Linked DNA regions of Homo sapiens: regions 1 and 3 are each linked to region 2. Evidence: promoter capture Hi-C in human tissues and cell types (Jung and others, 2019). All regions are on one chromosome and are shown on one strand. The core of a region is centred on a gene start or on the middle of the fragment in contact, and the rest is flanking DNA. Distances in the headings are between cores, read along the strand shown.

What was found. Contacts are between HindIII fragments. The study calls those that stand out against the background at their distance.
Region 1: a fragment that was not itself captured here is called in contact with the fragment with the promoter of RFC2 in region 2 in 4 of the 25 tissues and cell types used here (IMR-90 fibroblasts, dorsolateral prefrontal cortex, lymphoblastoid cells and 1 more).
Region 3: a fragment that was not itself captured here is called in contact with the fragment with the promoter of RFC2 in region 2 in 2 of the 25 tissues and cell types used here (dorsolateral prefrontal cortex and thymus).

What each region holds. Positions count from the first base shown.
Region 1 is chr7:74,061,884-74,065,643 of GRCh38, reverse strand. It overlaps ELN (elastin), which reads right to left. Exons shown (of 33, transcript NM_000501.4): 27 at 2,420-2,491; 28 at 2,275-2,334; 29 at 1,949-2,023. ELN-AS1 (ELN antisense RNA 1) reads left to right here and starts at 3,364. Exons shown (of 2, transcript NR_183555.1): 1 at 3,364-3,434. RefSeq lists a silencer at 3,196-3,388 and enhancers at 3,191-3,485, 3,029-3,529, 3,530-3,760. The HindIII fragment of the contact is 5,904 bases long and covers 1-3,760 here.
Region 2 is chr7:74,252,531-74,256,736 of GRCh38, reverse strand. It overlaps RFC2 (replication factor C subunit 2), which reads left to right and starts at 2,338. Exons shown (of 11, transcript NM_181471.3): 1 at 2,338-2,466. The coding sequence starts at 2,354. RefSeq lists enhancers at 1,945-2,024, 1,498-2,100, 2,435-2,664, 2,101-2,703, 2,704-3,306 and 2 more and a silencer at 2,265-2,384. The HindIII fragment of the contact is 19,783 bases long and covers 1-4,206 here.
Region 3 is chr7:74,489,940-74,494,266 of GRCh38, reverse strand. All of the region lies in intron 1 of GTF2IRD1 (GTF2I repeat domain containing 1), which reads right to left. Among named protein-coding and RNA genes, the nearest start is that of GTF2IRD1, 38 kb to the right of the region's middle. The HindIII fragment of the contact is 6,256 bases long and covers 1-4,327 here.

The DNA.
Region 1 (3,760 bases), core at 616-3,115, 190 kb after region 2:
GGCCCTGTCTTTTTTTTTTTTTTTTTTCTTGAGGCAGAGTCTCACTCCTTCGCCTGGGCTGGAGTGCAGTGGCGCGATCCCGGCTCACTGCAACCTCCATCTCCTGGGTTCAAGCGGTTCTCCTGCCTCAGCCTCCTGAGCAGCTGGGATTACAGGCACCCACCACCACGCCTGGCTAATTTTTGTATTTTTAGTAGAGACAGGTTTCACCATGTTGGCCAGGCTGGTCGCGAACTCCTGACCTCAGGTGATCCACCTGCCTCGGCCTCCCAAAGTGCTGACATTACAGGTGTGAGCCACTGCACCTGGCTAGGCCCTGTCTTCTGACCTACTCACCCTTTACCGTCTGCCCATGGACTCATCCTCCCAGTCTATCCCCCCATCTCTCCTTCATCTATCCAGCTTCTTGCTCTGTTGCCCAGGCTGGAATGCAGTGGCTTGATCACAGCTCACTGCAGCCCTGAACTCCCGGGTTCAAGTGATCTTCCTGCCTCAGCCTCCCAAGTAGCTGAAACTACAGGCACACACCACGCCCAGCTAATTTTTAAATATTTCGTAGAGGTGGTGGTGGGGGGGGGTCTTGCTACATTGTCCAGGCTGGTCTTGAACTCCTGGCCTCAAGCAATCCACCTACCTAAGCCTCCCAAAGTGTTGGGATTACAGGCATGAGCCACCATGCCCGGCCCCAAAAGTCTTAATTGTTAAGCTCCTACTGTGTGTCTGGTCTTGTGGCACTCACAGGAAGAGCTGTGCAGGCTAGTTTACAGGGGGAGACACAATGACAGCCCAAGAAAGGGGGAAATGGCCACACAAGGTCGGCCACCATGGTGGAGACTTAGGGAAAGCAATTTCTCTCCAAGCTTTGATTTCTTTCTTGGAGAACTGGCATAACCATCATTCTCCTAATTTACTCCCACCGCAGTGGTCAGGTGGGTTGAAAGAGAGAGGAGAGGGGGAGGACTGGGACCCTGGCGGCAAGGGATAGCCCCAGCTCCCGTTTGCCACATTTCTTGTTTTTATTTTGTTTTGGGATGAGGTCTTGCTCTGTTGCTCAGGCTGGAGTGCAGCGGCGTGATCTTGGCTCACTGCAACTTCTGCCTCCTGGGTTCAAGTGATTCTCCTGTCTCAGGCTCCCGAGTAGCTGGGATTACAGGCGTGTGTCACCATGCCCAGCTAATTTATATACATACATACATACATATATATATATATATATATATTTTTTTTTTGAGACGGAGTCTCGCTCTGTCGCCCAGGCTGGAGTGCAGTGGCGCGATCTCGGCTCACTGCAAGCTCCGCCTCCCAGGTTCACGCCATTCTTCTGCCTCAGCCTCCTGAGTAGCTGGGACTACAGGCGTCTGCCACCACGCCCAGCTAATTTTTTGTATTTTTAGTAGAGACGGGGTTTCACTGTGTTAGCCAGGATGGTCTTGATCTGACCTCGTGATCTGCCCACCTCAGCCTCCCAAAGTGCTGGGATCACAGGCGTGAGCCACCATGCCTGGCCTCTTTTCTTTTCTTTCTTTCTTTTTTTTTTTTAGATGACAGGGTCTCACTCTGCTGCCCAAGCTGGAATGCAGTGGTACCATCTCAGCTCACTGCAGCCTCTGCCTCCTGGGCTCAAGCGATCCTCTGGCCTCAGCCTCTCAAGTAGCTGGAAATACAGGTGCCCACCACCACGCCCGGCTTATTTTTGTATTTTTGGTAGAGATGAGGTTTCGCCATGTCACCCAGGCTGGTCTCAAACTCCTCACCTCTAGTGATCCGCCCACCTTGGCCTACTAGAGTGCTGGGATTGCAGGCGTGAGCCACCGCACCTGGCCAAGAGGACATCTTGAGCAAAGACGTGCCAGGGGTGGGAACGAAAGTCTCTGTCTCTGTCTCTGTCTCCATCTCTGTCTCGCATACACACACCACACACACTCACTGATTTCAGAACAACTCTCACCTCCAAGGCCCCCAACACCTGGAACTCCAAGCCCTCCGACTCCGAGTCCTCCGAGCCCAGCGGCTCCCACTAGGCCTGTGGAGACAGCTGAGCATTAGACTCCGCTGGTCAGAAAGGTGGGACTGAAGCCTCGGCCTGTGGAGGGCGGAGGTGTCCTCTGGGGACACAGGTGGAGCCTGAGGTCTCCCCTGGCCTTCGATGGCACAGTGGAGCCAGGAGGTGTCTGGGGCAGGGACTCTGAGTCTACAGTGCCTGGTCAGAAGCTCCTCCCACACCCTGGGGGCCTGGGGGCCTGGCGGCAGCTCCCACCTCCACCCAGTGCTCACCAAACTGGGCGGCTTTGGCAGCAGCTTTGGCTGCGGCAGCGGCGGCGGCGGGTCCGGCTCCTGGGAACACAGACCGAGTTCAGGGAGGCACTCTGTACTGGTTAGATTCCCTCCCCACCCTGCCCCTCCTGGGGTTTCAACTCACCCACCACACCGCCTGGGATGCCTACTCCACCGAGAGCCCCGAGCCCTCCAAGGACCCCAGGCACTGCTGCTCCTGCGGGGAGAGGAGGGAAAATGAGTGTTCCATTTCTGAACGATGGGTCTCCCTGCCCCAGGGACACAAGGCAAGCAGACAGGTGGCAGGGGCCATGTGACACTGTGGAGGAGCAGTGGACAGGAAGTCCAGTCCATATTTTGTTTCATTTTGAGATGGGGTTTTGCTCTGTCACCCCGGCTGGAGTGCAGTGGTACAATCATAGTTCACTGCAGCCTCCAACTCCTGGGCTCATGCGATCCTCCTGCCTTAGCCTCCCGAAGGTGTGAACCACTGTGCCTGGCCTTAAAAGTTCTTTTGTAAGCCGGGTGCGGTGGCTCACACCTGTAATCCCAGCACTTTGGGAGGCTGAGGCTAGTGGATCACCTGAGGTCAGGAGTTTGAGACCAGCCTGGCCAACACGGTGAAACCCTGTTTCTACGAAAAATACAAAAATTAGCCAGGCGTGGTGGCGGGCGCCTGTAATCCCAGCTACTTGGAAGGCTGAGGCAGGAGAATCACTTGAACCCGGGAGATGGAGGCTGCAGGGAGCCAAGATCGTACCACTGCATTCCAGCCTGGGCGACAGAGCAAGACTCTGTCAAAACAAACAAACAAACAAACAAACAACGGTAATAGTATCTACAGCAGGCACTTAACATTTTGAGTGCTTCACACTTAGCAGCCCATTTTTTATGCATTGCAGCAGGAAAGGTAGGCACTATTGTCATTCCCATTTTGCAGATGAGAACGCTGAGGCAGAGCAGAGGTTAAGCAGTGTGCTCAGGGCTTCAGGGACGGGAAGTGGCTGGGGAGCCTGCGCCCTTCGCGGCTCCACCACATGACGTCACTCTGTTTCCCTGGCAATGTCTGTTGACTCAGGCCTGCCAAGCAGTCAGCAGTGAGCAGGGGAGGAGGCCAGGGCTGCTGGGGGTCGGCGCTGAGGAAGCCAGGATTTTCCGAGGTAGAAACTGGCCCCAAGTGGACCTGCCCGGCTGGTTGGTGGATCCCTGGGGGAGTCTTCCACCTCCCACCAACGCTGCTCACAGGAGGCCAGGAATTCAGGGGCTACAGACAGCGTGGGTCTGGCCAGGCAGGGCTGCCAGAGCGCCAAGTGCAGAGGCTGTGGGACTGCCACGTCCTCTGGGCTGGCTCGTGGTGGGAGCGGTCCTGCTGGCAGGACAGGAAGGCGGGCGGGGGCCCGGGGTGCCCAGATGAGGAATACCAGCTCCTTTGCTCGGGCCAGAGAGCTGGGGTGGAGGCAGAGACTGCCCAGACTCCTCATACCCA
Region 2 (4,206 bases), core at 1,089-3,588:
GGAGGAATTCTCCGTGGCTACTCTATGCCCTTTCACAAGAGCCTGTGGTTTCCCCAGCACTCCCTGGTTCCCCAACATTGCTGTTTTTCAGTCCCAGGGGAGCGGCTGGAGTTTTTAAGTTCTGAGCTCTGTTTGGGCCCAAGTCCAATAGGTCACAAAAGGCTCAGTCTAAAAAAAAGAAATGTCCTGACAGTGCAGCTTTGCCCTAAGAGTCACCTCCATCTCTGGTTCTCCTGGCATTCCATCAGTTAGAGGAGAGCCCTAGCAGCGCCAAAAGGCCTCCTGTAGAGTGGGGGTTTTTGGAGAATTATGAAAGGAACCGTGTTCTGTACTTATTAAAAATTAGTTTCTAAACTGTGTTATGTGATGGGAGGGATGTGTGTCATAGTGATTACAAGGAAAACATGAAGATTACAAAGGAACAATCCTATGGAAAAACCGCGGAGACATTTCAAGAAAAGTGTATATTTCAAGAGGAGTGTGTATTTTCTCCTCCGGAAAAATAAAAGACCTGTGAATAATGATTGAAAAAACAGACAAGACCGCTCCATCAGTTTAAAGGGGGAATAGGGGAGAGATGGCCAATTCAAACATTTTTTCCAAATTACATGGAAAGAAAAACACTGTGTTAAGTTGTGAATCTGTATACGTTAATACTATCGTTAAAACCAACTGCTTGGCCAGACGCGGTGGCTCACACCTGTAATCCCAGCACTTTGGGAGGCTGAGGCAAGCGGATCACTTGAAGTCAGGAGTTTGAGACCAGCCTGGTCAACGTGGCGAAACCCCATCTCTACTGAAAATACAAGTATTAGCCAGGTGTGGTGGCACACGCTTGTAGTCCCAGCTACTCGGGAGGTTGAGGCAGGAGAATCACTTGAACCTGGGAGCCTGACATTGCAGTGAGCTGAGATCACACCACTGTACTCCAGTCTGGGTGACAGAGTGAGACTCCATCTCAAAAACAAAAAACAAGAAACAAAACAAAGAATGGTCAAAGCACTTGTGAATCTGAAGTACCTACTTTCTTTTCTTCTTATTTTTTTAGAAACAGGATTTCACTCTGTCCCCCGGGGCTGGAGTACATTGACTTGATCATGGTTCACTGTGGCTTCAACCTCATGGGCTCAACCGATTCTCCTGCCTCAGCCTCCCGAGTAACTGGGACTACTGTCGCGTACCACCACAACTGGATAATTTAAAAAATTTTTTTTGTAGAGATGGGGTCTCACCATGTTGCCCAGGCTGGTCTCAAACTCCTCGGCTTGAGGGATCCTCCCACCTTAGCCTCCCAAAGTTCTGGGATCATCATTATTGAATATTATGACAATTTGGGCTATGGGAGGAAAGATTGGGTAGAAAAACAGCCCATAAGAATGCTCAAAACCCTTGCAAGGTTGAAGTATTTACTTTTTCTTTTTTGAGACAGGGTCTTGCTGCAGACCAGGTTGGAGTGCAGTGGTGTGATCAGAGATCACTGCAGCCTGCACCTCCTGGGCTCAAGCACTCCTCCGCCTCAGCTTCCTGAGTAGCTGGAACTGCAGGTGCGCGCCACCACGCCCGGCTACTTTTTTAATTTTTATTTTTGTAGAGACGGGGATCTCACTTTGTTGCCCAGGCTGGTCTCGAACTCCTGGGCTTAATCGCTCTTCCGGTCTCTGTCCCCCAAAGTGCTGGGATTAGAGGGGTGAGCCACCGCACCGGCCTTGAGTCCCTATTTTCCTGGAATGAACATTGCATTTCATCTGACAAAAGGACGGTTTCAGTTTCCTCCTCTGCAAAATGGGGTGGGGGTGGAATTCCCATCTTGCAGCCGAGAATTCCCTGATAATAAACGTCGAGTACCGAGCGCGGTTGAGGCGCAGGAGCCTACCCAACGGGAGCAGCTCACTAGGACATTCAGAGCAATCTGGAAAAGTGGGCACGGGCAGCCCCAGACGTCATCCCCGGACCCCGCTGCCCAGCAGCGCCCGGACGCCAGCGTTGTCCGTGTCCCAACACCGAAGCCCGCGTTTGGCCGCAACCCCTCCAGGCCCTGCTCCTCCCACGCCGCCGCGGAGCGGATCTTCCACAGAAACCACACACAAACGTCCGTTCCGAGAGCGACCTGCTTTCTCGGAAGGCGTCGCGGCCACAGCTCGCCTTCCTGTCGCTCCCAGGCCGGGCGCCAGGTCTCCCATAGCAACCGCGGCCTCCAGCGATGGCCGCCAGGGCACCACCGGAACCCTCTTCGCAGGCACAGAGAGGCGCGGGTACGTAACTTCCGCTCGCGCCCGGCGGAAGCCAGGGGGCGGGGCTTGCGTGGCGGCGTCAAGGGGCGGTGCCTCGGGTGGCGGGAAGAGGAGGCGCGAGAATGGAGGTGGAGGCCGTCTGTGGTGGCGCGGGCGAGGTGGAGGCCCAGGACTCTGACCCTGCCCCTGCCTTCAGCAAGGCCCCCGGCAGCGCCGGCCACTACGAACTGCCGTGGTGAGGTCCCAGGCCGTAAAGAATGGGCGCGTTTGGACGTGAGGGTGGGCGAGTGGCGGGCCGTGCTCCGGAGAAACTCGGGGGTCAGGGGCTCGTTTTGGGGAATCCCGAGGGAGGAGGAGGCCCCGGGTGGCATCGAGATGATTTCAAGAAGGCGACGGACATGGATCGAGAGTGGCCGGTCTAAACTCTGCGAGCGGAGTCTCGCTCACTACAATGCTTATGACAATTAGGGCTACCCCGGGTGGCCACCTACTCTGACCTAGTTGGTTTTTTCAAAAGTTTTTGTGTATAGTAGTGTATGACCTAGTGTTTTCAAAAACTTCAATCTTTTAAAAAAAATATCGATTACATGTTGAAAATAATATTTTGACTGTTAGGTTCAATAACATTTACATTTGAAATTTTTTTAAAAAAATCAAGACGGGGGTTTTGCTGTGTTGCCCAGGCTGATGTCCAGCTCCTTGGCTCAAGTGATCCCCCTGCCTCAGCCTCCTAAGTAGATGGGACTACAGGCACGCACCACCATGCCCAGTTAATTTTTTTTTTTTAGATGGAGTCACACTTTGTCACACAGGCTGGAGTGCAGTGGTGTGATTTCTGCTCACTACAACCTGCATCTCCCTGGTTCAATCAATTCTGCCTCAGCCTTCCTAGTAGCTGGGATTACAGGCATGTACCATCACACCCTGCTAATTTTGTGTTTTTAGTAGAGGCTGGGTTTCACCATGTTGGCCAGGCTGGTCTCGAAGTCCTGATCTCAAGTGATCCGTCCGCCTCGCCTTCCCAAAGTGCTGGGATTACAGGCATGAGCCACTGTACCCAGCCTAGGCCTACGGTGTCTAGCCAGCTATGCTGTGTATTTGGCACACGTCTGCAGAAACTGGCAGGTAATCCTTGCCTGGCATGGTGGCTCACGCCAGTAATCCCAGCACTTTGGGAGGCTGAGGTGGGCAGATCACCTGAGGTTGGTAGTGACCCAAGATCGCACCATTGCACTCCAGCCTGGGCAACAAGAGCAAAACTCTGTCTCCAAAAAAAAAAAAAAGAAAAGAAACTGGCAGGTAAGGGATGAGAAAGGAGCTTGGTTGCACCCATGTTGTCACACCAAATGATGTCAGTGCTGTATGTGCTGGGCCTCTTGTGACGGGCGGACAGGGTTGCAGCACAGTGTCACATTGCTCCAGATGACCTGTGCTGGCCGTGCTCCAGCAGCAACAGGTGTTTCTCTGCTGTGGCAGGTTTGAAGCCTATGCTGTACAATTCTCATGCCTTTAACTTTTCAAATGGCACTTGGGCATCTTATTACATTTTATTTATTTATTATTTATTTTTGAAACAGAGTCTCACTCTGTAGCCCGGGCTGGAGTATAGTGGCATGCATGATCTCAGCTCACTGCAACTTCTGCCTCCCAGGTTCGAGCTACTGTGCCTTAGCCTCCCAAGTAGCTGGGATTACAGACGCACACCACCACATCCAGCTAATTTTTGTATTTTAAGTAGAGATGAGGTTTCACCATGTTGGCCAGACTGGGCTCAAACTCCTGACCTCAATTGATCCACCCGCCTCAGCCTCACAAAGTGCTAGGATTACAGGTGTGAGCCACTGCGCCTGGCTGTCATCTTATTACATTTAAAACTTGCAACCATTTGGCATAGTTGTACTGAATGTATGTAATTTTTTAACAAAGCTCTCAGGATAACCCTTAGGTGCTTTTTGTGGGGTAGTGTGAAGATAAC
Region 3 (4,327 bases), core at 1,609-4,108, 240 kb before region 2:
AAACGGGATCTTGCTCTGTTGCCCAGGCTGGAGTGCCGTGGTGCGATCGTAGCTCACTGCAGCCTCCAACTCCCACCGGCAACCTTTTGACTGCAATTGTAGGAGAGATTGAGTAAGACCCATCTGGCTGAGCTCAGACAACTCTCACAATGTGAAGAGTAAAAGAAGAAATGACTGTTGTTTGACACTGCTAATGTTGGGCTATTGGTTTATGCAGTCCAAGATAAATAACGGATACACCCTGAGGGCACACCAGGCTGACGCTGCTGTACCCCCCAAGAGGGGGCAGCTGTTTGGGAGAGTGGACACGGCTTGAGTTCAGGAGTTCAAGACCAGCCTGGGTAATATGGCAAGACCCCATCTCAACAAAAAATAAAAAAATCAGCTGGGTGTGGTGGTGCATGCCTGTAGTCCCAGCTGCTTGGGAGGCTGAGATGGGAGGATCCCCTGAGCCCAGGAGGTCAAGGCTGCAGTGAGCCAAGATCACACCACTGCACTCCAGCCTAGATATATGGCTTAGGGAGTCCACATAAATGAGAATAAGGTCCCCTCAGAGGGGACAGAGCCGAGGTGGGTCAGCTGGGATCTTCCATTTGTCTCCTTTACCTGGCCGGCATCTATCACAGGAGAACCTGTCTACTAGAATGGCTGCTGGAGTTTGCCCTTAGAGACCCGAGATAGGCTCAAAAAAATGACCTCCAAAAGACAGCCATGTCCTAATCCCCAGAGCCTGTGTTACCTTATATGGCAAAATCACTTTGCAGATGTGATTAAGGATCTTGAGGTAGGGGATTATTCTGGCTTAGCCGGGTAGGCTCTAAATGCCATCACATGCATCCTTATAAGAAGAGGTCATGGCCGGGCGCGGTAGCTCATACCTGTAAGCCCAGCACTTTGGGGGCCAAGGCAGGAGGATTGCTTGAGCCCAGGAGTTTGAGACCAGCCTGGGAAACATAGTGAGACCCCATCTCTACAAAAAATAAAAAAAAATTAGCTGGGTGTGGTGGAGCATGCCTATAGTCCCAGTTACTCGGGAGGCTGAGATGGGAGGATCCCCTGAGCCCAGGAGGTCAAGGATGCTGTGAGCTGAGATCACGTCACTGCCCTCCAGCCTGAGCAAGACAGTGAGACCCCTATCTCAAAAAAAAAAAAAAAAGAAGAAGAAGAAGAGGTCATGCCAGGCACAGTGGCTCATTCCTGTAATCTCAGTGCTTTGGGAGGCCAAGGCAGCAGGATCACTTCAAGTCAGGAGGACCACTTGAGGCTAAGAGTTTGAGACTAGCCTGAGCAACACAGCAAGACCCCAGCTCTACAAACATTTTTTAAAAATAGGGTAGAGGAAGACTGGACATCCATATAGAAGAGAAGTCCAAGTGAAGACGAAGTAGAGAGAGATTGGAAGATGCTGGCCTTGAAGACTGGAGTGATGCGGCCACAAGCCCAGGAGTGCTGGCAGCCCCCAGGAGCTAGAAGAGGCCAGGAACAGATTCCCCCCGAGAGCCTCTGGAGGGAGCATGGCACTGTCGGCACCTTGATTTTGGCCCAGTGGTAATGATTTTGGACCTTTGGCCTCCAGAACTGTGAGAATAGAAATTTCTCTTGTTCTCATAAAAACATGGGCAAAGGACATGAACAGACACTTTTCAAAAGGAGATGTACATGCAGCCAACAATCTTATGAAAAAAGACTCAATCAACATCATTGATCATGAGTGAAATGCAAATCACAACCACAATGAGATATCATCTCACACCAGTCAGAATGGCTATTATTAAAGTCAAAAAATGACAGATGCTGGGCCAGGCGTGGTGGCTCACACCAGTAATCCCAGCACTTTTGGAGGCCAAGGTGGGCAGATCATGAGGTCAGGAGATCAAGACCATCCTGGCTAACATGGTGAAACTCAGTTTCCACTAAAAATACAAAAAATTAGCCAGGCGTGGTGGCAGGCACCTGTAGTCCCAGCTACTCGGGAGGCTGAGGGAGGAGAATGGCGTGAACCCGGGAGGCAGAGCTTGCGGTGAGCCGAGATCACGCCACTGAACTCCAGCCTGGGCGACAGAGTGAGACTCTGTCTCAAAAAAAAAAAAAAAAAATTAGCCGGGAATGGTAGTGTGTGCCTGTAATCCCAGCTACTCGGGAGGCTGAGGCAGGAGAATTGCTTGAACCCAGGAAGTAGAGGTTGCAGTGAGCTGAGATTGCACCACTGCATTCCAGTCTGGACAACAGAGTAAGACTCCGTCTCAAAACAAAAACAAAAACAAAAACAAACGAACAAGAAAATAACAGATGTTGGTGAGGTTGTGGAGAAAAAGGAACACTTATACACTGTTGTAAATTAGTTCAGCCATTGTGGAAGACAGTGTGGTGATTCCTCAAAAACCTAAAGACAGAAATACCATTGGACCCGGCAATCCCTTACTGGGTATATACCCAAAGGAATAGAAATCATTCTACAATAAAGACACATGCACACGTATGTTTACTGCAGCACTATTCACAACAGCAAAAACATGGAATCAACCTAAATGCCCATCAATGATAGACTGGGTAAAGAAAATGTGGTAGGTATACACCATGGAATACTATGCAGCCACAAAAAAGAACAAGATCATGTTCTTTGCAGGGACATGGATGGAGCTGGAGGCCATTATCCTTAGCAAACTAACACAAGAACAGAAAACCAAATACTGCATGTTCTCACTTATAAGTGGGAGCTGAACAATGAGAACACATGGACACAGAGAGGGGGGCAACACACACTGGGGCCTTTCAGAAGGTGGAGGGTGGGAGGAGGGAGAAGATCATAAGAAATAACTATTGGGTACTGGGCTTAATACCTGGGTGAAAAAAGAATCTGTACAACAAACCCCCATGACACAAGTTTACCTATGTCACAAACCTGCACACTTGTACCCAAGAACCTCAAAGTAAAAAAAAAAAAAAAAAAAAAAAGAATTTTTTTTTCTCCCTCACTCTGTCACCCAGGCTGGAGTGCAGCAGTGGGATCTCAGCTCACTGCAACCTCCACCTCCAGGGTTCAGGCGATTCTCGTGCCTCAGCCTCCTGAGTAGCTGGGATTACAGGTGCCTGCCACCACGCCCATCTAATTTTTGTATTTTTAGTAGAGATGGGGTTTCACCATGTTGGCCAGAATGGTCTTGAACTCCTGACCTCATGATCTGCCCACTTTAGCCTTCCAAAGTGCTGGGATTACAGGCATGAGCCACCGCACTCGGCCTGAAATTTCTGTTGCTTTAAGGCACGAAGTCTGTGTGGCCCGTGTTACAGCAGCTTCAGGAAATTAACACTGGCTCCTTCACTGGCTGTACCCCACCTCACAAAGACAGTCCACATCCTCAGCCCCTTGGACACTCAGTCCTCAGCTCAGACCTCTGCAAAGCTCAGGCCTGGGTTTGCTGGAGAGCTCTCCAATCTCTTCCCCCTTGGAAGCGCCACTAGAAAGAGCCGGATTTTTCTGGACACCAGAGAAGCGTCTCTGTGATTCAAGTCTCACTGCCCTATGGACCAGCTGGGGCGTTGGAGCTGATGGAGAAAAAAAAAAATACACCCAACCACGTAAAAGGCAAAGGCAGGCACACACCCCACCCAAACACGGCCCCCGCACCATCCGCTGCCATATGCTTGTTTCTTGAAAAAGAAGCTTGAGAGAACAAACAAAAAAGAAATTTCTCCCCTTCTGGAAGGCGGGCGGGGGGGGGGGTATCCTTTCTCCCCAGCAGCCTCAGCCTCCCTCTGAATACTCCCTCTCTAGTCCCAGAGGCTCCCCAGTGGGGGTAGAGTGGCCTGGGGGTCCTGGATTCCTGCCCTCCCCCACCACCACTGTCACTGTAGCCGGGAAGAACACTGCCAGTCACAGCCCTGGCCTTCCATTCGTATCTGCTCAGGCCAGGCTCTGGGCTGGGCAGCGGGAGGGGGTCTTACACCCAGCCGCAGTGCAGTAGAAGGCAGTCTGGGGTCATGGTTAAGACACCTGGGGTCTCACTGGGCGCAGTGGCTCACGCCTGTAATCCCAGTGCTTTGGGAGGCTAAGGCAGGAGGATCAAGCCCAGGAGTTCAAGATCAGCCTGGGCAGCACAGTGAGACCCCATCTCTACAAAAAAACAAAAAAGTTAGCCAGGTGTGGTGGTGCGTGCCTGTTGTCCCAGCTACTCGGGGTGCTGAGGCAGGAGGATAGCTTGACACGGGAGGTCAAGGCTGCAATGAGCTATGACTGCAGCACTGCAGTCCAACCCAGGGGACAGAGCTAGACTCTGTCACACACACACACAAAAAAAATCTGAGTTCCAGTCCTGGATCTGACCCC